Regions from separate parts of the Homo sapiens genome. Here regions 1 and 3 are each linked to region 2. The links are contacts of gene promoters, found by promoter capture Hi-C in blood cells and fetal thymus (Javierre and others, 2016). All regions are on one chromosome and are shown on one strand. Each heading gives the region's core, a stretch centred on a gene start or on the middle of the fragment in contact. The rest is flanking DNA. Distances are from core to core; before and after follow the strand shown.

Region 1 (4,640 bases), core at 210-2,709, 33 kb after region 2:
AACTTTGCCCTTGGGGTCACCAAGAGCTTTTGGGAGGAGAATGGGAAAGGTATCAACCCCAGATGATTTCTTAATATAGCCATCTCTTGCAGGAGGACTAGACATGCTCATTCTCAACCACATCACCAACACTTCTTTGAATCTTTTTCATGATGATATTCACCATGTGCGCAAAAGCATGGAAGTCAACTTCCTCAGTTACGTGGTCCTGACTGTAGCTGCCTTGCCCATGCTGAAGCAGAGCAATGGAAGCATTGTTGTCGTCTCCTCTCTGGCTGGTAAGTGGGACAGGGACATATGTGGAAGGTAGAAGAAAAAAAAAAATGCCAGGGATGATGCCAGGCTCTGAAGTAGACATAAATTTTTATCAGTTTCCATGCAGAGAAGTAATGAGGGATTGGTCAAGGTAAGTGGGCTACAAAATTCTTTTAAGTAACAGAGAAAAAGCAGTAGCTCTGAGTGCTCATTGGAAGACTGAATTGTTTTCTACAAAGTAAGGTCAAAGGGACTTGAGGGGCTGCTGGAGGTACAGCCTGTCCTGGTCCTAAGGGAGAGACCTAGTTACAATATTAACTTGAAGTTGAAATGTTCATAGTAATATTAAACAAAAGCTGATTAACAGCTTACTCATATGCATGAATGGGCAGATGTACTGATAAGAGACTTGTAGGGGGGTGATTTGTGGACTCAATGAGAGGCACGCATCCTGAGTAAAGGAGACACTGTTACAAACTAGTGACACCATAAAAAATGAAGGATTGGTCAAGGTAGATGGGCTACAAAATTCTTTTAAGTAGCAGAGAAAAAGCAGTAGTTCAGAGTGCCTATTGGAAGCCTGAATTGTTTTCTACAAAGGAAGGTTGAAGGGACTTGAGAGGCTGCTGGAGGTACAGCTTGTCCTGGTCCTAAGTGAGAGACCTAGTCACAATGGATAAAAAGGACTTTGCTTCCTCCATGACCAAAAGGTTGGTGAAGTTATGTAAATGTGAAGGTACAACTGAGAAGTTAACTGTTTTAACAACACACAGGTGTCTGATAAGTGGGCTAAGCTAAAGCTAAATAAAATGAACAACAAGAAAAAAAAAAAAGATGAACAGACCTGCCTATAGTGGGTGTATTCTCTAAAATTTGAACATGTTAACATGAAAAGATCAATTTAAACAACCAGCTGGGTAGGGAGGAAATGTGTCCAGAGAAATGGTCATGAAAAGATATCTGTGGGATCAAGAGAGGTCCCTGGTGTTCTGGATGGTGGTAGCATCAGAAGCCATCACCAGTAAAAAACCAGTGAGTTCCCAGCTTGGGACATTTCTAGGCCCATTTTTATCATAGATCCAGGAGACAAGTTCCACACATCTTTGTTGATTAGTCAGTTAGAAGGATGTGGCTGGAAAGTGCAAACACCAGGATCAAAATCCGCCATCTAAATGTTGTTCCTGGCAAAATAAAAACAAATAACCTAGAGGACTCTGTAAACTGTTAAGCACTTCACAAACATTCTTATTGAAACTAATAGCACCATCTGTATCGTAAAGAGTTCTCCTTTCTGGCCCAGGGACGGCCTGCATAGTGATTGGATAAAGGGGCAGTGTGTCTGTGCTACCCGCCAAACAGTGTGATTGATATGCATCCCGGTGCTTCCCAGACAACACACACTCCCCACCCCTCCCCAGACACAGACTCTCTCTGGGCTGGAAGAAAGGGAGAGCTTCCAGATGCATACTGAGTGGGAGGGTGCTGGGCACATCCCCAATCCATCCCAGGGCATTGGACAAAATCCTCACATCAGTCATGATGTAGGTGGCTTTAATGATTTCAGCTGATTAAATAATACATTCACTCTAGGCAAAGGATGTATTTCACCTTTGACGAATGTAACTTTCTAGAATGTACCCATGATCTAAATGTGCTCAGAAGGACTAAGAATTACTGTTGAGCCCAAGGACGTGATGAAATTCTGATAATCTCTGTTTCCCCATATCTCCTACACTTATTGAATGACACTTGGTAATTTCCATGAACTCTGGGAGGTAGGAAATCTAGCTGGATGAGTATCTTTGGTGTTTATTGCTTGTGTAGCCAAAAGATTCCAGCTTTTTTGCCTTGAAACCTGTCTATGAACTTGCAAAGTACAGACACATTGCTGTCTTGCCGCAACTGAAGAATATTCTCTGCTTTATGATGTATTCTTTTAATCAGTCAGTAAACATGTTCATTAATCCTTCCTCTTTAAAATCTAAACTCTATAAATATGGGATGCTAAACATCAAGTTGATCTTAAGGTCAGCCAAACAGTACTGGGATGGAGTTTTAATCATTTCTTCTAGGGAATACCTTAAGTTGTTTATTGAGTTTCAGTGATAAAGAATTGTTTTTTCTCCACAATGCATTTCTGGGTATTGCATTACATGGGAATACTATACTTCTAATATGTTCCTTAAAGGCTTGGTTACCTCTGTAGCATTAACAGAGACAATACTGCTGCTTCTGGGAACCTCCTTGTAGTCCACATCTATCCACTATTCACCACCTTTTCTTGGCACCTATTGAGCAAGTTTCTTGTATGTGTAACATCCCGTTACATTGATTAGCCTCCTCTCCTTCCACCACTTGCTAGTTAGGATGTAAGTTCAGCTACTGTAACGAAGACCCGAATTTACAATGGCTTAAGCAAATCTAAATTTATTTATCTCACACAAAACACCCTGGAAAGGCAGTCCAGGGCTGATATGGTAGTTCTGTCCTATGAGGCTGTCCAGGAGGCCTTCTATCTCAGAACCACCATTCCTAGAGTGCTTGTTTACACCTGCATGTCCAAGATGGCTCATTGGCATGTCTGAATTCTAACTCAAGAAAATGAAAAAAGAAGGATACCACCTGGAAGGTGTACACTTTTCTTCTGCCACAGCTGGCTGCAATTGTTATCTTTATTCAAAGGGAACATGTGTCCAACTAAAAATCAGAAGTTCTATTTGTGTAAAAGACACTGATATTGATAAACAACTAGCAATCTCTCCCACATCACCCATGCTAAAAAACACATAAGACTAGAAAAAAGTATACCCTCCAGGCCATCCCACATGTGAAACACACACACACACACACACACACACACACACACACAAAAGACTCATTCCCTCTCACATTCAAGGTCCATCACAAAAAACAAAGTCCTTCCATCCGGCAGTGCGTGCAGGGGACAGTGGGGTAGGAGAAAGAATGGAAAGAGAATACCTAAATAGCATTTGTGAAACAAACCAAAGTAGAAATATTAATACTTGAATATGACTAAAAAAAATCACTGGAGTGGGCAGAGAACATTTGAAAACATCTGGAAAAAAGTTTATCTGACATTAGTCAAAATAGGTCATCTTAGGTTCAATATTAGAAAAGTAAAGTTGGTTTCATTTTCGGGCTCCTGGGCTTGGTGAATCCCATCACTGTGGTGTGTGTCATCAGTTGCACACATGGCAGCTAGAACTGAGCATCTAAGGCCATTTCTCCACCTGCTTTATGCCCCTGAGAGGAATCACGGACAAACCCTGTCTTCCTCTGCTCCTTTCTCCTCTCAAAATCTACTTAGCCCCCTACCTCCTATGAAGTCTTTTTCAGAACTCACCAGAGCCATTTCAATGTTTCTTCTTTGTCTTTATCTACTATATTTTGGTAAGTTAACTTTAGAAATCCAACTTCCTCATCATTTCTCTTTTTTGGGTTTATTGGTAATCCAAATACTACTAATACTACTCATAACTACTAATAACACAAATGTTAAACATACTCGGCAAGCATACGTGTAGGGATAGTAATCCTTCTGGATCAAGGAAAATGCAAGGTATATTTTGAAGTGAAACTGGACATCACAAAAGACTCAGTTGCTTTAAATATTCAAAATGAAAATAGATCAGAAGGAATAAAAGAACCTTGTCAATAACCTTTGAATCAGACTTCTCTTGAGAAGCTCCATAAGTGTCTCCAGTTAACTATTCACTTTTCTCCAAGTAAATCTTCTTAAAAAATCAACTTTCCCTATATATAGATAGTCTTATTCAAATGTATTCCTTTCCTGTTTTACTCATTCGCAGCATTGTTTCATACTGTTTTTTAATGTACGTGTGCAGTCTTTCAGGCACTTTGAGTTGAGTTGACTAGCCGGGGGCAAACATTCATAAGACAGTGCTCTGTGGGAAAACTCAAACCAACAGATGAAGTCACTTGCTGGATCTTAACCTATTTGTCAGTGGAGGTCTGCCTGTGTGGTCTAAATCTATTTCAAAAATTCAACATTATGAAGTGGGGGGAGAAAAACAGGTTTTTCAACTACACATATCAACTAACAGGACTTGGAAGACCTATAATGATGTTTTGCATAGACAAGGATATACAGATGTTAATGTCATCCCTGCCTTCAGTTCTGGCATACCCACTCCTTCCTGAAAGGTGGGCCAATGTTTCAATGTATAGCTGTGCCTCAGGTTATTGGGGGTGGGGGGATCCCAAACTCCAGATTATGAACGGGCCTCAGAACCAGAGTGGAAAGGGGCAATTTATCCCTTGCCACAGTTGTTCTCATTTTTCTAAGAAAAAATGCCGCTTTACCCTTAAATCCAATTACCTCAGAAATAATCTTCAGGAACCAG
Region 2 (4,759 bases), core at 1,028-3,527:
CACTGGATTCCTTAGCCTTCTACTCCCATCATCTCCTGCTCAGCCCCAGCTACCACCTAAACTAGGAAGATCAAGTCTACCAGTGACCTCCGTCCATGGCACTTGCTGCCCCTCCTCTGTCCAGCTCTTACCAATATAGCTGCTGGAACCTGGAGGTCAAAGTCAAATTATCAAAAAAAGGAACTGAGCTGGTGATGTGCACTAACACAGCAAATCACAGGAAAGGGGAACCCCAGGTAAATTACAGCCTTCTGACCTAGGAAGACGTGTGGTTTGCGTCTCTGAGTTACAGAAACACAGGAAATGCTTACTGGACCAGTCAATTTCAGAATTTTGGGTCCCAAGCTAGGCTGACTCACCTTCAGAATGGAAACCACGTGACAGCCCTTATATCAGGGCACACATCACATGCTCTTCCAGAAGTCAATGGGTTTGGAACCCTCACAGATATTGGGAAAGCTCACTAATCATTTCTGCCAGTTATCAGAGGTTGCTCTGAAACTATAAGGAAGATTCAAAGAAAATGCCAAGACTGATATTAAACTTGGCAGGAACCCTTGTTACAGAATTTTCCTGCCTGACAAGGTTAAAAGAACAATAAGCAGGAAACACAGTCCTCCAGGAATAATCAATTCTATTTGGCCCCTGGTCACCTTCACTCAGACTAAATTCTAAAACATAGAATTTCAAATAAGCTATTTAGATAACCTTGACCATTCTCCACACACAAGCCCTTGCCTGAACTATTAATAGTCAAGGCAAAGGGTAGTTGTTATTGCTGCCTTTTTAAACTGAATCATCTGAGAAATTGCTTCAGACCCCCAAAGAAAGATTACTGTTAACAATTCAAAAACTAAAATATTTGATCCCTGAGACAGCCTTTTCCCCCGACCCGCCCTTCAGGGCTCAGTCCGACCGACTGCAAAGGCTGTTGCAAGATTGCATCACTGACCTTTGCAATTTTCTGGCCAGTTTGATTTCCCCTTCTTTCCCCTGCCCCCTCCCTTTCTCTGCTTAAAGGCCTTTGGCCAATTTGCCTCTCCTTTTCCCCAAGTTTGCTAACCCTTTGGCCAATTTGCCTCTCTTTTTCCCCAAGTTTGCTAACTCTAGCATATCCATAACCAAAGCCAAACTAGAACGCTCCCTCAGCCCCAGGTGATTACAGCTAACCCTGGTCAAAATCAATCCTACATCTTCACACGTCCAAGAGTACTCACACTCTGGATTCTTACCTAAGCTGTCTACTACACGCCCTTCTGCCCACAAACTGCTTCAAAGCTGAAGTTGAGCTGGAGCAGTGAAGTTGTACCCCCAAACCCAGGAGGGTGGCAGAGAATTATTGAGGAGAGCATGAAATACTTCCATTCTAAAATGGCAGATGAACTTCTACCAACAGCCCCTTCCATACTTGACCCCCTACCCCCAAGCTCCCAACTCCACTTCTCAAGTGGAAGTGAGAACAATTTGAATTTGAAGGCTCTTCCCTGATACACGGAAGTACATAAGGAAACAGCTCGCAGGCAAAGAGACTAATCTCTCTCTCTTTCTCTCTCTCTCTCTCTCTCTCTCTCTCTCTCACACACACACACACACACACACACACACCTCTGTGCATAAAAGCACCATCAATGAATAGTTTTCTATCAACTGACTCTAGTTATACATGCATGTACCTCTAAATAAAACCAACCAGGCAGGAAAGAAACAATATTAGCACATATTGCTTTATCCAAGCGTAACCTGTTCTGTCCTGTTACCCAGATCCTTCCCCCTTGCCTTCTCCTCTCTGATCCATTGCCACACACGTGGGAAGGTGACAACCCTTCCGAATAAAAATGAAAGCTTTCTTCTTTAGATGGAACCCCCAAATTCCCTCATTATTTATAATGTCAGGCTGTCCTGGACAAGGGAAGCTGTGCACCCGCTGACACCAGTAAGAAGGTTGCCGCCATGTCAGAGATGTCCGCGGACACCTCCCTGGGCTCCGGGTCCTCCCCTGCGCTCGCCTGGAGTGGGACCTTCGCGTGCACACTGGCCTTCCCACGCGCCCCGCTGCGATGGCACCCGCGCCGGGCCCCCTAGCTCACACAGTCGGAGCGTGCTCAGCGCGTGGCCACCTCCTGCCAGGTCCCAGCCGGGTTCCACCCCCTCCTTTTCCCCTCCTCTTCTTCCTCCCCCTCCGAGTTCCCCTGGCTCTGACCGCGCTGGCCTGGGCCGGAGAGCCCAGGAGGCGTGTCTCAGAGAAAAGATATAAGCGGCCCCCGGACGCTAAAGCGGTGCCAGCGGCGGAGTCTCCAACTGGGAGAGCTGCAGCTGCCGAGAGGAGGAGAACGCTGAGGTCGGTCGGACCAACGGACGCGCTGACCGCTGCCAACTGCAGCTCGCGCTGCCTCCTGCTCGCGCCGTGCCACTAAGGTAGTCCGCCTTTCTATGAGCCCTCCCCAAGATTAGCTGGGTGCGGGGTGGTGGGAGCCGTTCTTTGGTGGCTGAAGCCCCTCTCCTGCTGCTCCTCCTGCAGGTCATTCCCGCCTCCGAGAGCCCAGAGCCGAGATGGAAACGGTCCAGGAGCTGATCCCCCTGGCCAAGGAGATGATGGCCCAGAAGCGCAAGGGGAAGATGGTGAAGCTGTACGTGCTGGGCAGCGTGCTGGCCCTCTTCGGCGTGGTGCTCGGCCTGATGGAGACTGTGTGCAGCCCCTTCACGGCCGCCAGACGTCTGCGGGACCAGGAGGCAGCCGTGGCGGAGCTGCAGGCCGCCCTGGAGCGACAGGCTCTCCAGAAGCAAGCCCTGCAGGAGAAAGGCAAGCAGCAGGACACGGTCCTCGGCGGCCGGGCCCTGTCCAACCGGCAGCACGCCTCCTAGGAACTGTGGGAGACCAGCGGAGTGGGAGGGAGACGCAGTAGACAGAGACAGACCGAGAGAGGAATGGAGAGACAGAGGGGGCGCGCGCACAGGAGCCTGACTCCGCTGGGAGAGTGCAGGAGCACGTGCTGTTTTTTATTTGGACTTAACTTCAGAGAAACCGCTGACATCTAGAACTGACCTACCACAAGCATCCACCAAAGGAGTTTGGGATTGAGTTTTGCTGCTGTGCAGCACTGCATTGTCATGACATTTCCAACACTGTGTGAATTATCTAAATGCGTCTACCATTTTGCACTAGGGAGGAAGGATAAATGCTTTTTATGTTATTATTATTAATTATTACAATGACCACCATTTTGCATTTTGAAATAAAAAAACTTTTTATACCATATCTCATGTAATTCCTGAGAGGTGTGGTGTCCTGGGGTGGGAAGCAGGGAGGGTGAGCAGGTGGGCGATGGTGATGGGTTCTTACCTGAGCACTGCAGAGGGAGCAGCTTCCTGAGGGTCAGACACTTGCTTCACACCTAGGAACTGTGTAATAAGTTACTACATGCATATAAGTCTGTTGAGGACTTGTTTTTCCTTCTTGTTAGGGGTGGGAAGAGAGAAAATTTTATAACTTCCGTGAGATTTAGCATTTTAACATCAAAAGGTAGATCAACTTCTGAGCTACAGTGAGTAGGAGATAACTGATTAATTCTAAGGCAGAAAAGCTCTTTGTTCCTTACACCTGTGCACCAGAGGTTCCCATGGCTGATACCTTTTTCTTCCCAACTATATTTTAGACAGACAGACAGAGAGAAGGAAAGAAAATGAAGGAGGGAGGTCTGGAGGTGAAGGGAAGGAAAGAAAGGAAAAACTATCTACCTGGCAGGAAAAGAGATAAGCTCCCAAGAACACCAAAGCAGATGATGAGTCTAGCTCTACCCAGCCTTCCTCCCCACGAATCCAGATCATAGTAAGAAACTCTGGGCTAGAAAGAGAAAAAAACCGGTTGTTACATATCTGAGTCCTCCTCCTCCAGTGTACAGAGCTTCATCTGTAGTAATAGCTAATTCAGTGACTCTATAGGGCTCAGCAAAACAAATTTTAAACTTTAAAGAAGTAGCCAGGAGCCAGAGGCATGGCCTTGATGCTAGTCTCCTCACATTTTTCATGTCACCTGTCCTAATCAGGTACTGACACTTTACTCCTTTCATCAACAGCTATGCATTTTTGCCAAACATATCACTGGCTCACACCATTGCCTCTGCTCAGACTCTCTCCTTCGTCCAATGCCCTACACACATCTCCATTTCATTTCTGCCAACTCAATTCCTACCAAGTGTTCCTGGCCCTGATCAAAAGCCATCTCTTTCTGAAATCTATTCTTATCACTCCCAAAGGAAAAAAGCAATCAGAATGTGGTAAGATTAATCAAGGAAAAGAAACATATTTGGAGTTTTAAAGGAAAAGAATGTCAGTGGCACCATGGCTCTCCCAGTTTCCAAAATGGGAAATTCAGCCCTATACCAAGGCAGAGCCTCACTTTCAATGTCCAAGAAACTTCCTAGGAACTGACTCAATTTTATCCTTCCTGCTGGTCTTCCAAAATGCCTCTTTTATTAATTACTCCTTTACCCATTCAGTTACCACCTTGTCTGGCTCTCAACCGCTCAAGCCACCCCCTGCACCTTCTAGCACATTCACCCTAAACAATCCCTTGTCAGACTGTCTTCCTTTAATATCTTTCATTCTGCTGCTCCTGAACTCAAAAACATCTGAGACTAAAACTCTTATGCCAGGTTTCAGTGCCTCTGTGATGTGCTTCCATCACAGCTGGCCGTCTTGCCTGATTTGTCAGGGTGCCTAGCATGAACCCTGGTCCTTGCCTGTTTCCTTCTGGTTTTCT
Region 3 (4,617 bases), core at 1,431-3,930, 53 kb after region 2:
TGTCATTGTGGGACTTTAGCCTCTTCCAAAGACCTCTCCCCATTTCTTTCAGGAGTTCCTAGATGATGTTCAACAAGCTTAGGCCACCATGCCTTTCCTACCCCACACTCATTCTCAAAACCCACTATGAATATCATTTATGGATAAAGCCACTCTTTCCTACTGAACAGTTTAGCACAGTCCTCTACTCCATAAACAGACTAGAAGAATGGGGGGCAGAGCTCAAATCTGCAGGTTAATGGTCCTTATTTGCACATGGTCCTTACGTGCATTGAATTTGAGTACTGGCTTAAACATTTACAGATCAATAGCAGGTCACAAAATCTGAGAGATGTCAACAACAGCTGTAGCCATATGTTATTATGTTACAGTGCACCTCATGCATAGTCTTCACAATAAAGGCTAATCGTTTTTCAGTAGTCTTTGTCCAACCTTATATGCTTGCATAATAGTTCATTTTTTTCACCAATTAAAAGCAGGCGGATCACGAGGTCAAGAGATCAAGACCATCCTGGCCAACACAGTAAAGCCCCATCTCTACTAAAAACACAAAAATTAGCCAGGCATAGTGGCACATGCCTGTAGTCCCAGCTACTCAGGAGGCTGAGGCAGGAGAATCACTTGAACCCGGGAGGCGTAGGTTGCAGTGAGCCAAGATCGCGCCACTGCACTCCAACCTGGCAACAGAATGAGACTCCGTAAAAAAAAAAAAAAAAAAAAAAAAAAAACCAAAAATATTTTTTAGGCTTGGCACAGTGGCTCATGCCTATAATCCCAGTATTTTGGGAGGCCAAGGCAGGAGGATCACTTGATGCCAGGGATTTTAGGCCAGCCTGTGCAACATAGTAAGACGTTGTCTCTACAAAAAATTAAAAATAAATTAGCCAAGCACAGTGGCATGCATCTGTAATCCCAGCAACTCAGGAGGCTGGGGTGGGAGGATGAGCTATGATCTCAACACTGTGCTTTAGCACTTCAGCCTGCGTGGGTGACAGAGTGAGACCCTGTTTCTAACAACAACAAAAAAAAAACTTTTTTAAACCATACAAGCATCCATGTCATGAATTTTTCAGGTGGTCTTCTGACATGTCTGGCTCCTTCACTACTTCTCTCCTTTCTTCTGCTTTCACTTTCTCTCTTCTCTTACCTCCTTCTCCTACAAAACCATTTAGGATTCTTCTATGTACCTTGAGCATAACCTGAGGCATAACTAAGGATAGGCAATGTGATGCATGAGCTCCATAAGTGGTATAAAAATAACTGCTCTAGGAATTCAGACTATGGCTTCGCAGGATATCTTGCTTCTGTATCTCTGTTGCCACCTAGACAAACACATTAAATGTCATAGTCAATATCTTTATTGTCATCTAGGGGTGTGTAGTGGGCTGAATGGTGGTCCTCCCCCAAAAGATATATCCACCTAGATCCTGTGAACGTGACCTTAAGTGGACACATAGAAAGTCCTTGAGGATGTAACTAAGATCTCAAGATGAAATCATTCCCGATTATCTGAGAGGCCCTGAATCCAATGACAAGTAACCTTATATGAAGAGTAAAAGACACAGACAGAAGAGAAGAAAGTGATGTGAAGATGGAGGCAGAGACTGGAGTTGCCAGCACAACTCAGCTCCAACTGCCAGCAGACATTAGAAGCTAGAAGAGAAAAAAGAAGGATTCCCTGCTATAGGTTTTGGGGGGAGCATGGCTGTGCTGATAACTTGGTTTTGGACTTCTGGATTCCAGTTCTGTAAGAGAACACATTTCTGTAGTCTTACGCTACCAAGTTTGTGGTAATTTGTTATGGCAGCCCAGGGAAATGAATACAAAGGGACTAGGAGTGACTAGCCCTGTTTATTTATGGGTATCCTCATCTGTCAGCTTAGAAGTGAAAATAATACTGCTATTCATAAATTTTGCCTATTTTGGACTCGACTATCAAAAGAGAGAGAATCCTCACCAATGCAGAAAGAACTGGATTTAACACATGGCTCCTGGAAAACACTCATATAAAGAACAGTGCCTTCTGTAGAGGAAGTACCACCTAGTGTTCAAGAGTGTGGGCCACTAGAGTCAAATTTGAATCCTGGTTTGAATCCTGCTTCTCCCACTCATTAACCTTGAAACTTTGAGCATTTATCCTTTAGATTCTACACTGGCACATAAGAGCTAAATAAATGTTAGTTCCTATTTAGCTCAATTTCAGAGGTTATTGTGTTTGCTCCATATGCTTGCTTATTTTTGCAGAATACTTGTCTCCGCTTACTTATCCCTCTCCATGGCTGAAATGGCTACCCCAGTCCCAACCTTACATGACCTTTTCATTCAAAATCCAACAGCAGCAATCAGAATCTTTTGGTCACTTATTTCAATTTATTGAAAGAGAGACCACGATGTGTGTTCAAGCCAGTGTGCATATTCGTGATAACTGGGCCAACCTTCCATGGCTAGAAAGATAAAGGCTCTTTGAAGGGGATGAGGGCAGGAAGTCCATGGCAAGCATTTCTAGTACACTGTAGCTTTTCACATTTTATATATTCCAACCTATTTATGTCTTCCTTCATAGTATATGCCTCCAATTTCATGCTTTAAAAAGTATCTCTAACTTTGAGATTAGAAATTCACCAATAGCTTATTTTAGTTTTTTACTTTCCACATATACTCTGTGATCTAATTTGAATTTGTTTATTAGAATGGCACTTTTTTCTCCAAGTAACTAGCTATTTGTCCCAACATGATTTTTTGAATAGCTCATACTTTTCTCACCAATTTGAATACTAATACTGCTAACAATAATAGCATTTTCTGAATGCTTTCTATGTGCCAGAGTTTGTGCTAAGTATATTACATGGGTTACTTCAGCTTGGTTATATTATTATCCACATATTACAGCTAAGAATTGGCATACTTGGGATTCACACCTGGGTCATCTGACTCTAGAGCTCATACTTTTAATTATTATGCTATTCTGATAAGTAATGTGGATCTATTTTTGTCTCAAACAATAAGGAAAATTATTGACATAACTGGAAGTCCAGATGTAGGGCAGGCTTCACAGTTGACTTGGCTGAAGCTCAGTGTCCCCGTGATTCTCTTGGCTCTGCTCTCTTCCATGTGTGGCTTCATCCTCAGGCTGACAATGAGATAGCTGCAGCAATTCCAGCCCCCATATCAATGCACAAAAAATGTGTTGGAAGAAAAAGAGGATTGCTACTCTCAGAAACTCTTCCAGAAAAACAATAACTTTTTGAGACACTCCAACAAAATTTTCTTCAAATCTCATTGGTCCAAAATGAGCCACATGGCCATTCCTGTATCAATCATGAGTAAGAAGAATGGGATAAAATAGATTACATAAGCTCATACCTGCAGTTAGGAATGATGTCAGCTTTCTTTTGGCACATGGGCTGCATAGAAGTGAGGATAACTATCAATAAGAAGTAAGTCCAGCTCTCAGATACAGAAAACCTAAAATAATAGTGGATTCAATAAGTTAGCATTTAGGCCAGGCATAGTGGCTCATGCCTGTAATCCCAATACTTTGGGAGGCCGAGGCAGGTGGATCACTTGAGATCAGGAGTTCAAGACCAGCCTGGCCAACATGGTGAAACCCTGTTTCTACTAAAAATACAAAAATTAGCCAGGTTTGGTAGCTCAAACCTGTAATCCCAGCTACTCGGGAGGTTGAGGCAGAAGAATCACTAGAACTTGGGAGGCAAAAGTTGCAGTGAGCCGAGATCATGCCATTGCACTCCAGCCTGGGCAACAGAGCAAGACTCTGCCTCGGAAAACACACACACACACACACACACACACACACAAGTAAGTTAAAATTTAAATCAGGTCTGAAGGTAGGCAGTATAGGGCCAGTATAGTATGGCAGCTCCATGGTCACCCAGGTTCCTTCCTTCTATCTAAACTATCTAAATGTTTTGCCATCCTCAACACGTGGCTTCTACCTCATGGTCCAAGATAGGTCTGGAGCCATAGCCATTACATCCACCTTCAGACACCAAGAAGGACAAAGGATTGGGAAGGAGAGACTGGCTTCTCCTTTTAAGGATGTGTCCCAACATTGAAACCAAAACTAAAGATACAACAAAAAAGAGAAAACCACAGGCCAATATCCCTGATGAACACAGATGCAAAAATCCTCAACAAAATACTAGCAAACAGAGCTCAACAACATTTTAAAGGATCATTCATTATGATCAAGTAGGATTCATCTTCAAGATGCAAGGATGGTTCAACATAAGCAAATCAATAAATGTGATACATCACATCAACAGAATCAAAGGCAAAAATATATAATCATTTCAGTAGATGATGAAAAAGCATTTGGTAAAATGCAATATCCCTTCATAATAAAAACCCTCAACAAATTGGGTATAGAAGGGATATACCTCAACATCATAAAGGCCATACATGACAAACCTATAGCTAATATCTTACTGAACTGGACAAAATTGAAAGCCTTTCCACCAAGATTTGGACCAAGACAATGATGCCAACTTCCACCACTTTTATTCAACGTAGTACTGGAAGTTCTAGCCAGAGCAATTAGACAAGAGAAAGAAATAAAGGGTATCCCAGTTGAAAAGAAAGAAGTCAAAAACCTCA

What was found. Contacts are between HindIII fragments. The CHiCAGO score rates a contact against its expected background, and 5 or more counts as called.
Region 1: a fragment that was not itself captured here is called in contact with the fragment with the promoter of G0S2 in region 2 in 1 of 17 cell types (neutrophils); the score reaches 5.2 in neutrophils.
Region 3: a contact is called between a fragment that was not itself captured here and the fragment with the promoter of G0S2 in region 2, in 1 of 17 cell types (neutrophils). The highest score is 7.0, in neutrophils.

What each region holds. Positions count from the first base shown.
Region 1 is chr1:209,706,851-209,711,490 of GRCh38, forward strand. HSD11B1 (hydroxysteroid 11-beta dehydrogenase 1) reads left to right here. Exons shown (of 6, transcript NM_005525.4): 4 at 93-278. The region is part of intron 1 of HSD11B1-AS1 (HSD11B1 antisense RNA 1); the gene reads right to left. Among named protein-coding and RNA genes, the nearest start is that of HSD11B1, 4.3 kb to the left of the region's middle. The HindIII fragment of the contact is 7,813 bases long and covers 1-4,640 here.
Region 2 is chr1:209,673,135-209,677,893 of GRCh38, forward strand. It overlaps G0S2 (G0/G1 switch 2), which reads left to right and starts at 2,278. Exons shown (of 2, transcript NM_015714.4): 1 at 2,278-2,415; 2 at 2,519-3,256. The coding sequence starts at 2,551. The coding sequence ends at 2,862. The region is part of intron 1 of HSD11B1-AS1 (HSD11B1 antisense RNA 1); the gene reads right to left. RefSeq lists enhancers at 1-109, 2,390-3,238. The HindIII fragment of the contact is 4,554 bases long and covers 1,841-4,759 here.
Region 3 is chr1:209,725,577-209,730,193 of GRCh38, forward strand. The region is part of intron 4 of HSD11B1 (hydroxysteroid 11-beta dehydrogenase 1); the gene reads left to right. All of the region lies in intron 1 of HSD11B1-AS1 (HSD11B1 antisense RNA 1), which reads right to left. Among named protein-coding and RNA genes, the nearest start is that of HSD11B1-AS1, 15 kb to the right of the region's middle. The HindIII fragment of the contact is 5,210 bases long and covers 76-4,617 here.